Linked DNA regions of Homo sapiens: region 1 is linked to region 2. The links are contacts of gene promoters, found by promoter capture Hi-C in human tissues and cell types (Jung and others, 2019). All regions are on one chromosome and are shown on one strand. The core of a region is centred on a gene start or on the middle of the fragment in contact, and the rest is flanking DNA. Distances in the headings are between cores, read along the strand shown.

Region 1 (5,227 bases), core at 2,615-5,114, 130 kb before region 2:
GGCCCCAGTGGGGACAACACGGTGGTTCAGGCCGAGGAGGGCGGCTGCGGTAGGCACAGTGTGGGTCTGTGTGGAGCCCCCCCTCGGCCTGCCCGGGGGGGACAGCCAGCCCAGGTGCCAACAGAGGGCCCGTGTTCCAGCTCCCGGGGAAACAGGGCGCCCTGTGTCTGTGGAGGGACAGACAGGGCCTCAGAGGGACGCACCAGGAGCCAGCAAGTCTGCCGGAGCGACCACGCGGAGCTGTCGGCCACAGGGGCCTGGGCGGCCCTTCCCGGGGGGCTGTCCCAGGGACTCTGCTGTTGGTGGGGCCCAGCCCTGTGGCACAGCTCAGGGGCGGACATCTCAGGCAGCGGCAGTTGTGGGAACCCGAGGGACCCATCGCCTGGGAAAGGCTGGTGCCACGGGGTGCCCCTGCCCAGCCTCTGCAAGGGGGAGACCTGAGGAGCCAACAGCCCTCCATGCCCCCTGCCCGGAACCCTCCCGTGCGGCTGTCCTCCCCGTAGTGGGTCCCGAATCCCACAGCCCCTCCTCCCGGGCTCCTTCACCCCGCTCCAGGCTCCTCTTGTCCCAGGGCAGCTGTGCACCACTGGTCTCCCGGGGACCCCGTAGTGGGGCTGCAGGTCCTGGTCAAGGGGGGCAGGGCAGGAGCCCACAGCAGTAGTGACTGGGCACCCCGTTCATGGGACCCACAGCCCAGAGACTCCGCAGCACTGTCCTGGGACCACGGGAAGGGCCTGCAAGAGCCCTGGAGCAGACACCCTCATCCTCCGTTGGGGATGGCAGCTGTGACTTCCCAGGGGACCTGGGGGTGGGGTCACAGGGCATGTGGGGTCAAGTCACACAGCATGAAGTGGACCAGGGCCGTCATTAAGCGAACAGTTTGTGGTGTGGAGTGCGCTCCCGAGGCCGTGCATCCACCTCCCCTCCATCCAGCCCATTTCCATCTTCCAGACAGAGCCTCTAGCCCCAGGGAATCCATCTCATGCCTCTGTGGGTCCCTGTTCGGGACCCTTCATATAAACGGAATCACGGGCCTCAGCCCTCCCATCGGGCATGTCAGCTTCTTCCCTCACGTCTGAACTCTCCACAGAGTCTGTGCGAGACGCCCAGCCCCCGGCTGCCTGTGTTCTGTGTGACGGAGGGTCCCACCTGCCGGTGTGGGGCAATGGGGCCAGTGGCCCCGACACGTGTCAGGCCGATGCCTGTGGTCAGGAAGTCCCCTGGGGGCGGAGGCCTGGGCATCTGAAGGGGTGCTCGGGGTGGGAGTCATGGTGTGATCTGCCCTCCCCATCTCGGCCAGCCTCGGGGGCCTGTCACTGTGGAAGGCAGGTCTGCTACCACCTCTGGGTACCCCACCAAGGTCACAAAAATAGGGGGGCCCCTGGACCCAGCTGGGGGCCTCGAGGGCCCACTCCATGGAGCCCTTGGCTCTGACCCGTGAGTGTCCAGCCCTGCTCAGGGAGACCCCCTCAGCTGGCAGGCAGAGGAGCCCTAATGGTGGGGGTCCAGTCTCTGGATCCAGGTTCCCAGAGACGTCCACTCACCTGGGGCGGACAGGTGACCTGAGGTCGGGTTGTGACAGCCTCGGCTGGAGTGGAGCCTGCACCCTCTGCAGACCCAGAGTCTGTCACACCTGACCCTTCCAAGGCTGGGTTCCCCTCACCTCATCTGTCTTTGGCAGATAGTCCCAAGGCCTCACCACACTGAGCCCATCTCCCCCAAACGTCTGGGGTCCCTGTGTGGTCAGGGCCGTGGGGCCTTTACACTAGCAACCAGTGCCAGCGCCCACACGGCAACCCCCTGGCTCTCCAGGGCCTGCTCTGCGCCCTGACACTAAGCTGCCCCAGTCCCGCACCAGGCCCTCAGTGTGGGTCTGCTGGGTCAACTGTGGGCCTGGGGGAAGGGAGAGGCACCCTGGAGTCCCCAGAGCAGCCTCCCTGGCTGGGTCAGGCCCTCAGCCATTCTCACTGCAGCTTGGAGGTCTCAGACTGCCCAGGTCCTCATCTGAGCAGGAAGGTTTGGGAGAATGGCAGCTTTGGAGCTTCAGATCAGCAACACACAAGAATACCACAGACGGCAGCAGCTGGCCCACAGTGGCAGAAAAGAAAGCTCCCTCGTCAAAACAGTATCACAGCAGCATGGAGACCTAGAGATAAACGGGGCACAGTAACCACCCGAGAAATCGTCCCACATGCGGCCAGGTACCGCCCAATGAGAACAACACGAGAAATCGTCCCACACACACGGCCAGGTACTGTCCGATGAGAACAACCCGAGAAATCATCCCACATGCGGCCAGGTACCGTCCGACAAGAACCCGAGAAATCGTCCTACACACGGCTAGGTACCTTCTGACGAGAACGGCCAGAGAAATCGTCCCACATGTGGCCAAGTACCATCCGACGAGAACAACCCAATAAATCGTCCCACACACGTGGCCAGGTACCTTCCAATGAGAACAACCTGAGAAATCGTCCCACGCATGCGGCCAGGTACCTCTGACGAGAACAGCCCGAGAAATCGTCCCACACGCAGCCACGTACCTTCCAATGACAACAACCCGAGAAATCATCCCACACACGGCCACATACCTTCCGACGAGAACTAGGTACCTTCCGACAAGAACAACCCGAGAAATCATTCCACACATGCAACCAGGTACCTTCTGACAACAACAACCACAGAAATCATCCCCCACGCGGCCAGGTACCGTCCAACGAGAACGACCAGGTACCTTCCGACAAGAACAACCAGGTACCTTCCGACGAAAATGACCCGAGAAATTGTCCCACATGCAGCCACGTACCTTCCAATGAGAACAACCCGAGAAATCATCCCACACACGGCCACATACCTTCCAACGAGAACAACCAGTACCTTCCGATGAGAACAACCAGGTACCTTCCGATGAGAACAACCCGAGAAATCATTCCACACATGCAACCAGGTACCTTCTGACAACAACGACCCAAGAAATCGTCCCACACGCAGCCAGGTACCTTCCAACGAGGACAACCAGGTGTCTTCCGACAAGAACAACCAGGCACCTTCCAACGAGAACAACCAGGTACCTTCCGATGAGAATGACCCAAGAAATTGTCCCACACGTGGCCTGGTACCTTCCGACAAAGGCTCTGAGACCATTCAATGGGAAGAGGACAGCCTTTTCAGCAAATGGTACTGGGAAAGCTTTATCTCCACATGCAAAATAATGAATGAAGCTGGCCCCTTACCTAACAGCATACACAAAAATTAACCCAAAAAACATAGGATGAAACACCTAAATGTAAGAGCTAAAACTGTAAGACTCAGAATAAAACCTGGGAAAATCTTAAGGACATTGGATTTGGCAGTGTTTTCTTGGATATGACAACAACAGCACCGGCAACAACACAGAAAATAAATTGGACTTCATCAAAATTTGACATTTCTGGCCGGGTACAGTGGCTCACACCTGTAATCCCAGCACTTTGGGAGGCCAAGGCAGGCGGATCACCTGAAGTCAGGAGTTTGAGACCAGCCTGGCCAACATAGTGAAACCCCGTCTGTGCCAAAAATACAAAAATTAGCCTGGCGTGGCAGGCACCTGTAGTCCCAGCTACTCGGGAGGCTGAGGCAGAAGAATCGCTTGAACCCGGGAGGCAGATGTTGCAGTGAGCTGAGACCGTACCACTGCACTCCAGCCTGGGCAATAGAGTAATATTCTGTCTTTAAAAAAAAAAACTGTGGCTATAAGTGAGACTGCAGAGCTGCCCCGGGCTGCTGTCTGTGGAAGCCCTGCCCTGCGGGAGCAGCCACAGCTGTAACCCCACCTCTGAAGTAAAGCTGTTTCCTTCCACCTCTGGCTCGACCTTGAATTCTTTCCTGGGCAAAGCCAAGAACCCTCTGGGACTAAGCTCCTCTTTCGGGCTCGTCTGCCATGCATCAGAATGATGTGGCCACGTGGAGACTGTCTGGGGGTTCCTCGAAATGTTCAGTGTAGACGGATGACCACATGACCCCGCAACTCCACGTCTGCACGTAGACCCGGGAGAGCTAGAAACGGCGACCACGTGACCCCGCAACTCCACGTCTGCACGGAGACCCGGGAGAGCTAGAAACGGGGACCACGTGACCCCGCAACTCCACGTCTGCACGTAGACCTGGGAGAGCTAGAAACGGGAACCACGTGACCCCGCAACTCCACATCTGCATGTAGACCCGGGAGAGCGGGAAACGGGGACCTGGGTGTGCTTGCACCGGAACGTTTGCAGCAGCCCAGAGGTGGGGACAGCCCAGATGAACAGACCAGGTGTGCTCACCCATGAGCATTACGCAGCCGCAAAGAGGAGCGAGGCCCCGACGCTCAGATGAGCCTTGAGAACCTGATGCCCAGTGAACCCGCCAGACACAGAGGGCACCGGTCCTGCGATGCCGTCTCTGGAATGTCCAGAACAGGGAAACCCACAGAGACGCTGGGCAGGGAGAAGGTGGACGGCTCTCGGGGCTGCTGGCAGGAACAGGGAGAGCGGGCATGACGGCTCACAGGTCCAGAAGGTTCTCTGGCGGGTGATGAAAATATCTGGAATTAGGCAGAGATGCTGGTTGTGCGTGTGGCCAATGTGTTACGTGCACCACACTGCTGACCTTTAAGTGGTTAATTTTATGTAAATGTCAACTTCACCTCAATGTTTTGAAATACAGCAAAGCAAAGCAGAGTGTCTTAAGCGTCCTGAGACCCTGGGCCTCCCTGCCTCAGGGCCCAGACCCTCACCCTGCCAGAAGGTCCAGTGGGGCTCAGGATGCCGGGCAGGGAACGCGCTTCACTCCTTCTCTGTGGCGTGCATGGGGCTGGAGCCGCTTAAGACCAAGGCTCAGTGCACCTGGATGCTGGTTAACCCGAAAGTGCCGTACGGAGCCACCAGTGGTCCCACAAGCTCTGATGATGGCCGCAGTCACGGACATGCAAACTTTGATTCACTGAGGACCACGCGAGCAAATGACAGGTGATGCCGGCAATTCTCAGCCCACTGCTGCCTGGATAGCTTGCCCCTTACGCCGCGAGCCAGGCTGCCCACCCAGCCCACACCCGGGCCCACCTGGCGCTTAGCAAATGGCCTTCCCACATCACGCTGGTGGCTTTCCGCACCACCCAGTGTTCACCTGGGCTCCCACACACCAGCAGGAGGCAGCAAGCAGGCACCTCCCTCCCATCTTGCTCCAAGCGCTGTGTGCGGGAGGGATGGAA
Region 2 (5,521 bases), core at 831-3,330:
TGGTCCCCGGATCGCCCCGCCTGGAACAGCGGCGGTGTCTGGCGGAGGACACGGGCGGCCACCACAGTGATGACAGACTCCTGCAGCTCCACGTCATGGGTGACCCCATGGATGATCCCGTGAATTACTGTGGGGAGGCATGTGGCTGCGGTAGGCATTCAGGGGAAGGCAGGCTCCAGGCTCCCCCCATGGCGGGGACACTCACCGAAGTCGCTGGTGCATGCGGCCAGGAGCAGCTCAGCGTCGCTGCAGGGCCTGCAGGCACCTGGCATGCAGAGGGGGTGGTGAGGAGAGGCCCTGCCCTCTCCCGGCATCACCCCAGGCCCCGTCCCTTGTCCGCACAAGCGGCAGGAGGCAGCAGGCAAATGAGCAGAGCCCACGCTCAGGGCCTGATGGCACCTGGGGGTCCCAGAGAGCTACACAGCAGATGTGCACGCCCTCGGCGACACCTGTACTCAGGAAACACACTTGCAGGCGCGTACCTCCAAGGCAGGAATGCACACAGACGTGGGCCTGGGGGCCATGCCTAGCGATCAGCTGTCCTGGGCCGCCCTCCTGCACTCCCATCTGACATATGCACCCCAGCATCTGGGACCCCTCTAGTTTCCCGGATCTGAGGTCTGAAGAGCAGCAGCCCAGCTAGGGTGATAGGAAGTGGGGGCAGAGGAAGGGTGGTCTGGGGTCCCTGGCCCAGGGCCAGGGGGCAGAATAGCGAGAGCCCATCCCTTTCAGGGTCAGGCGCCAAGCTCCAGGAGAGCCAAGCAAGAGCTGGGCCTGGTGCCCTGCAGGGAGGCGAGCGGCGTCTCCATGGTGACCGGGCTGCACACTGGACTTTTGTTGGTTGGGCTGGGGGAGGGGAGAGAGGTCACCGCTGGGCCAGGGAGCCCCGGACAGCTTTGGCCGGAGGCTTCGATTCTGTCCCCACCATCTCTTCCCCCAACCGTTCAGGGACCAGAGGCCCAGGATTGCTGGGCCCGGCCTCCCCTTCCCTCCACTCTGCCCCTGCCAGCTCTTTCCAGAGATGAATCGGGAAGGGAGGGCGGGGAGGCCATCCCTCCCCAGCAGTCCCAGGCTGTGTGGCCTGACAAGCCCATCCAACCCTTGTAGCTCACTTTTTCCTTCTGCAGTGGGGCCGACAAGGCACATTCCCGCCAAGCCCAGGCAGGGTAAGACTTCGGGACTCCCACCCTGTCCCAACCAGACCGCCACTCACCGTCTACGCCGAGACCGTGGGCCTGCGGGGGCAGCTCGGGGCGCCCGTCCTCGCGCAGCTCAAAGCGGAAGGCGGCCACGCGGCGGCTGATGTCCTGGTGCGGCGTGGCCTGCAGGAAGAGGGCCCGGCGCTCGCGGGGACCCCAGCGCACGCAGCGGCCCCCTGCCGGGCCCGGGCCCTCGGCCAGCAGCAGCTCCAGGGCGCCCCCTGCGCGCTCCGCGAAGACCTGGGCGCCCGCGAAGGGCCGCACCGGCCGCAGACAGGCGATGCCGGGCCGCGCTCTGGGATCGGGGCCGCCCAGGGTCAGGCGCAGCGCCCCAGCCGGGTACAGCCACTCAACCGCGCCCTCCGCACAGGCCAGGGCCAGCTGCCCCACGCTGCCGGGCTCCTGGGTGAGGCCGCTGGGGACAGGACGGGACGGGGCGCTGAGACGGGGGCGGGTCCCCGCCCGGCGCAGCCCCCGCTCCCTCCCGAGGCCGCCTCGCGGATGGGGAAACCGGCCCAGCGCTCTGCGCGCTCCGAGGGGCGCCTGGGGGGTCCTAGCCGCAGCGCACCCCGTCCTAAGTGCGGGGACAGCCCCCCGGACCGTACCTGCCCCTCCAGCTGCAGCGCTCCTCGGAGTAGCCGGCGCGGGCAGCCGGGGCCAGGAGGCCGCAGCACAGCGCGCAGAGCAGCGCCGCGGCCGGGAACCCCATGGCACGGCGGGCGGCGTCCGGGGAGTCGGGGCTCTCACCACCGCTGCCCCGGCGGGGCGCGGGTCCGGGCGGCGGCGGGAGCAGCCGGGGGCGCCGGCCGCCCGGCCCCGGCGAAGCCCCCAAGCCCGCGGCCGCTCCGCCTGCCGCGCAGCCCCAGCGCCGGGGCCGCCTTGGAGCGGGTCGGGAAGGGGGCGGGGCCTGCGGCGTGTCGGCCAGTCGCGGCGCGGCCCGGAACTTTCCGCCAATAGCAGGCGCGGGGCGGAGCGGGGGCGGGGCCGGAGCTCGGGCGCCGCCGGAGGACTATCCCACGGTCCAAGCGCCTCGAGGGTTGGGGGGGGCCTTGGCGCGGAAGGGAGGCTCCTTGCCCGCCCCGCGCTGTGCGTCTCTCCTTCGCCGCGCCCTCACCCTGGCCTCGCCCCCCGCGCTGTCCCGATCGGAGTCCTGGAGCCTCTGATGGAGCCGAGGTTTTGATGTCCACTGGAACCTCGGGGTGGCGGTAGGGAAGGTGGCCCACCTGGTGGTTCCGCCTCGCGGGCGGCCGGGCCTGCTCCTTCCTAACACTGGGACCTGGGCCTGTTGGCCACATCCCTCCCAACCAGGTCCGGTCCTGCTGACCAGAGGCCGGTGGAGCCCCAGAGGAGAGGGGTCATGACTCCAGAGGCGGGGAAGGCCTGGCCTGGGGGCTGCGCCTTGGAGCGGGGCCAGGCCTCGGGTTTTGGTAAGGCCGTCTGCAGGAGGGGGTCCTGCTGAAGAGCGCGCAGCCCGCAGGCTTAGGCCCCTTTCCTCAGACCTAGCGGCACCCCATAGTTGCCGGATGACCGACCCCGGGCCAGACGGGGCTCCTGGAGGGGCGTGAATGGAGCAGCCACGGGCACCCCTGCAGGCCTGCAGCACGTGGAGACACAGGAGCTGGGAGGACACCCCTGGGCCACAGGAGCAGCCCCCACCAAGATGAAACAAGCAGAAACAGGCGATTCGCAAACACACTGTAGCCTCAGGCTGGAGCAGTGTGGGATTCCCAGCATCCGGGACTGCTGAGTTGGCCTGATGGGAGGAAGTGGGCAGTGGCTGGCCAGGTGGACAGGAAGAGAATGGGGGAGAGCAGACAGCCTGGGTCAAGGGCCTGAGGAAGGAGCTCTTGGCAGCCCAGTGAAACCCCAGGGCATGGGTGGTGGGTGGGGACGACAGGTCAGATCACAGAAGGCCTAAGGCACAAGCAAAGGGGTCCCACTACATACTGAACCCCTTACGGACGACAGAAGCTTTAGCCGGGGACTGCAAGGACCAGCATAGACTGTGCAGCCTGAAGATGTGAACATTCCGTCCCCTGCCCCCAAACCTCCTGCCACCCGGCGCTCGAAACTCATGGTGGACAGATGAGTTCACCAGTGGCAGTCGGACAGATGAGGCCAGATGGCTCAGTGGCAGTGGGAGGCTGGATCCCACTGACCAGGCCCTCCCTCAACCCCAGGGCCCTCCCAGGCCAAACAGGAACAAGGCGCCTACTGGGCTCGGCCAGCCCCTTGCTCTGGGCGAGGTGCAGGTCAGAAGTAGCCATCACAATCCCCAAAAGGTGGAAGACTCCCAAAGGCCTGTCTGCAGCTGAGTGGACAAGCAAGTGCAGTGGGTCCATTTTTTTTTTTTTTTTTGAGACGGAATCTCGTTCTGTCGCCCAGGCTGGAGTGCAGTGGCTCGATCTCGGCTCACTGCAACCTCTGCCTCCTGGGTTCATGCCATTCTCCTGCCTCAGCCTCCCGAGCAGCTGAGACTACAGGCGCCCGCCACCACACCCGGCTAAATTTTTGTATTTTTTCTTTTTTTAGTAGAGAGGGTGTTTCACCGTGTTAGCCAGGATGGTCTCGATCTCCTGACCTCGTGATCTGCCCGCCTTGGCCTCCCAAAGTGCTGGGATTACAGATGTGAGCCACCGCGCCCGGCCTCTTTTTTTTTTTTTTTTTTTTTTTTTTTTTTGAGATGGAGTTTCGCTCTTTGCCCAGTCTGGAGTGCAATGGCGCGATCTTGGCTCACTGCAACCTCCACCTCCTGGGTTCAAGCGATTCTCCTGCGTCAGCCTCCCGAGCAGCTGGGATTACAGGCATGTGCCATCATGCCGGCTAATTTTGTATTTTTAGTAGAGACGAGGTTTCTCCATGCTGGTCAGGCTGGTCTTGAACTCCCGACCTCAGGTGATCCGCCCACCTCAGCCTCCCAAAGTGTTGGGATTACAGGCATGAGCCACGGCACCCCCTGGCGGTGGGTCCATTATTAAGCCATAAAAAGGAATGAAGTTCTGGTCCCTTGACACCCGCTACAGCCTGGATGAGCCTGGAGGCTTATGCGCTGAGCAAAATAAGCCAGAGACAAAAGGACAAACACTGTTGGATTCCACTTCTGTGAGTCACCTTAGAGTAGTCACGGTCATGAGGACAGAAAGTGGAGCAGGGGCTGGGGAGGGGAATGAGGGATTGGAGCTTAATGGGGACAGAATTCAGGAGCTTGATTACACAACACAAATGTACTCAACAGTACGGAACTGCACACTTTAAAATGGGTAAAATGGTAGATGTTATGATGTATATCTTACAATTAAAAATAAAAATTGTCAAGGCGCAGCGGCTCCCACCTGTAATTTCAGCAGTTTGGGAGGCCAAGGCAGGGAGATCACAAGGTCGGGAGTTCGAGACCAGCCTGGCCAACATGGTGAAACCCCATCTCTACTAAAAATACAAAAATTAGCTGGACGTGGTGGCGCACGCCTGCAGTCCTAGCTACTTGGGAGGCTGAGACAGGAGAACCGCTTGAACCCGGGAGGTGGAGGTTGCAGTGAGCTGAGATCAGGCCACTGCACTCCAGCCTGGGTGACAGAGTGAGAGTCTGTCTCATAAAAATTAATTAATTAATTACATAAAAATTAAGGCCGGGTGTGGCAGCTCCTGCCTGTAATCTCAGCACTTTGGGAGGCTGAGGCAGGATGATCGCTTGACATCAGGAGTTCAAGACCAGCCTGGCCAACATGTTGAAACCCCAACTCCACTAAAACTACAAAAATTAGCTGGGTGCAGCAGCTCATGCATGTAGTCTTAGCACTTTGGGAGGCTGTGGCAGGAGGATTGCTTAAGCCCAGGAGGGTGAGGCTGCAGTGAGCTGTGATTGCACCACTGCACTCCAACCAGGGCGACAGAAGAGACCCTGTCTCAATAAAAATTAAAAAATAAATAAATAAAATATAAAAATCGTAAAGGTTAAAGGGTAGACTCGGCCTGGGGCTGAGCACATGAGGTGCTCGCAGAGGTGGGGAGAGGCACACGGGTCGGCCGCTGCAGCCACCCAGCCGTCCAGGGCTGCTGCCGCTTGGCGGTCCCCGGGTCAGCACGGTGGGCTCCAGGCGCCCTCTGGTGGCGGCGTGAGGGTCAGCCCCAGACACCCTCCTGACAGCCTGGGCCCCGGACTTCTCCCCAGGCCTCCTCCAGAGAGGGGCCAGTGTCTGTGGTTGGAGGGAGGGGTTCCTGGGGTGACCTGGTCTGGAATGGCACATGCCTGGCCCCGAGTTGACGCCTCAACCCCGGGCGTCCCTGCCTCCTCCCCAGCCTCATCTCCGGGGATCCGGTGCCAA

Evidence for each region. Contacts are between HindIII fragments. The study calls those that stand out against the background at their distance.
Region 1: a fragment that was not itself captured here is called in contact with the fragment with the promoter of METRN in region 2 in 4 of the 25 tissues and cell types used here (dorsolateral prefrontal cortex, lymphoblastoid cells, mesendoderm cells and 1 more).

The regions. Positions count from the first base shown.
Region 1 is chr16:847,992-853,218 of GRCh38, reverse strand. No RefSeq gene overlaps it. Among named protein-coding and RNA genes, the nearest start is that of GNG13, 50 kb to the right of the region's middle. The HindIII fragment of the contact is 6,946 bases long and covers 392-5,227 here.
Region 2 is chr16:711,677-717,197 of GRCh38, reverse strand. METRN (meteorin, glial cell differentiation regulator) reads right to left here and starts at 2,080. Exons shown (of 4, transcript NM_024042.4): 1 at 1,805-2,080; 2 at 1,214-1,614; 3 at 206-265; 4 at 1-127. The coding sequence starts at 1,908. RefSeq lists enhancers at 74-671, 672-1,269, 1,270-1,867, 2,466-3,064 and silencers at 1,322-1,381, 1,482-1,911, 2,012-2,321, 5,209-5,338. The HindIII fragment of the contact is 3,141 bases long and covers 1,328-4,468 here.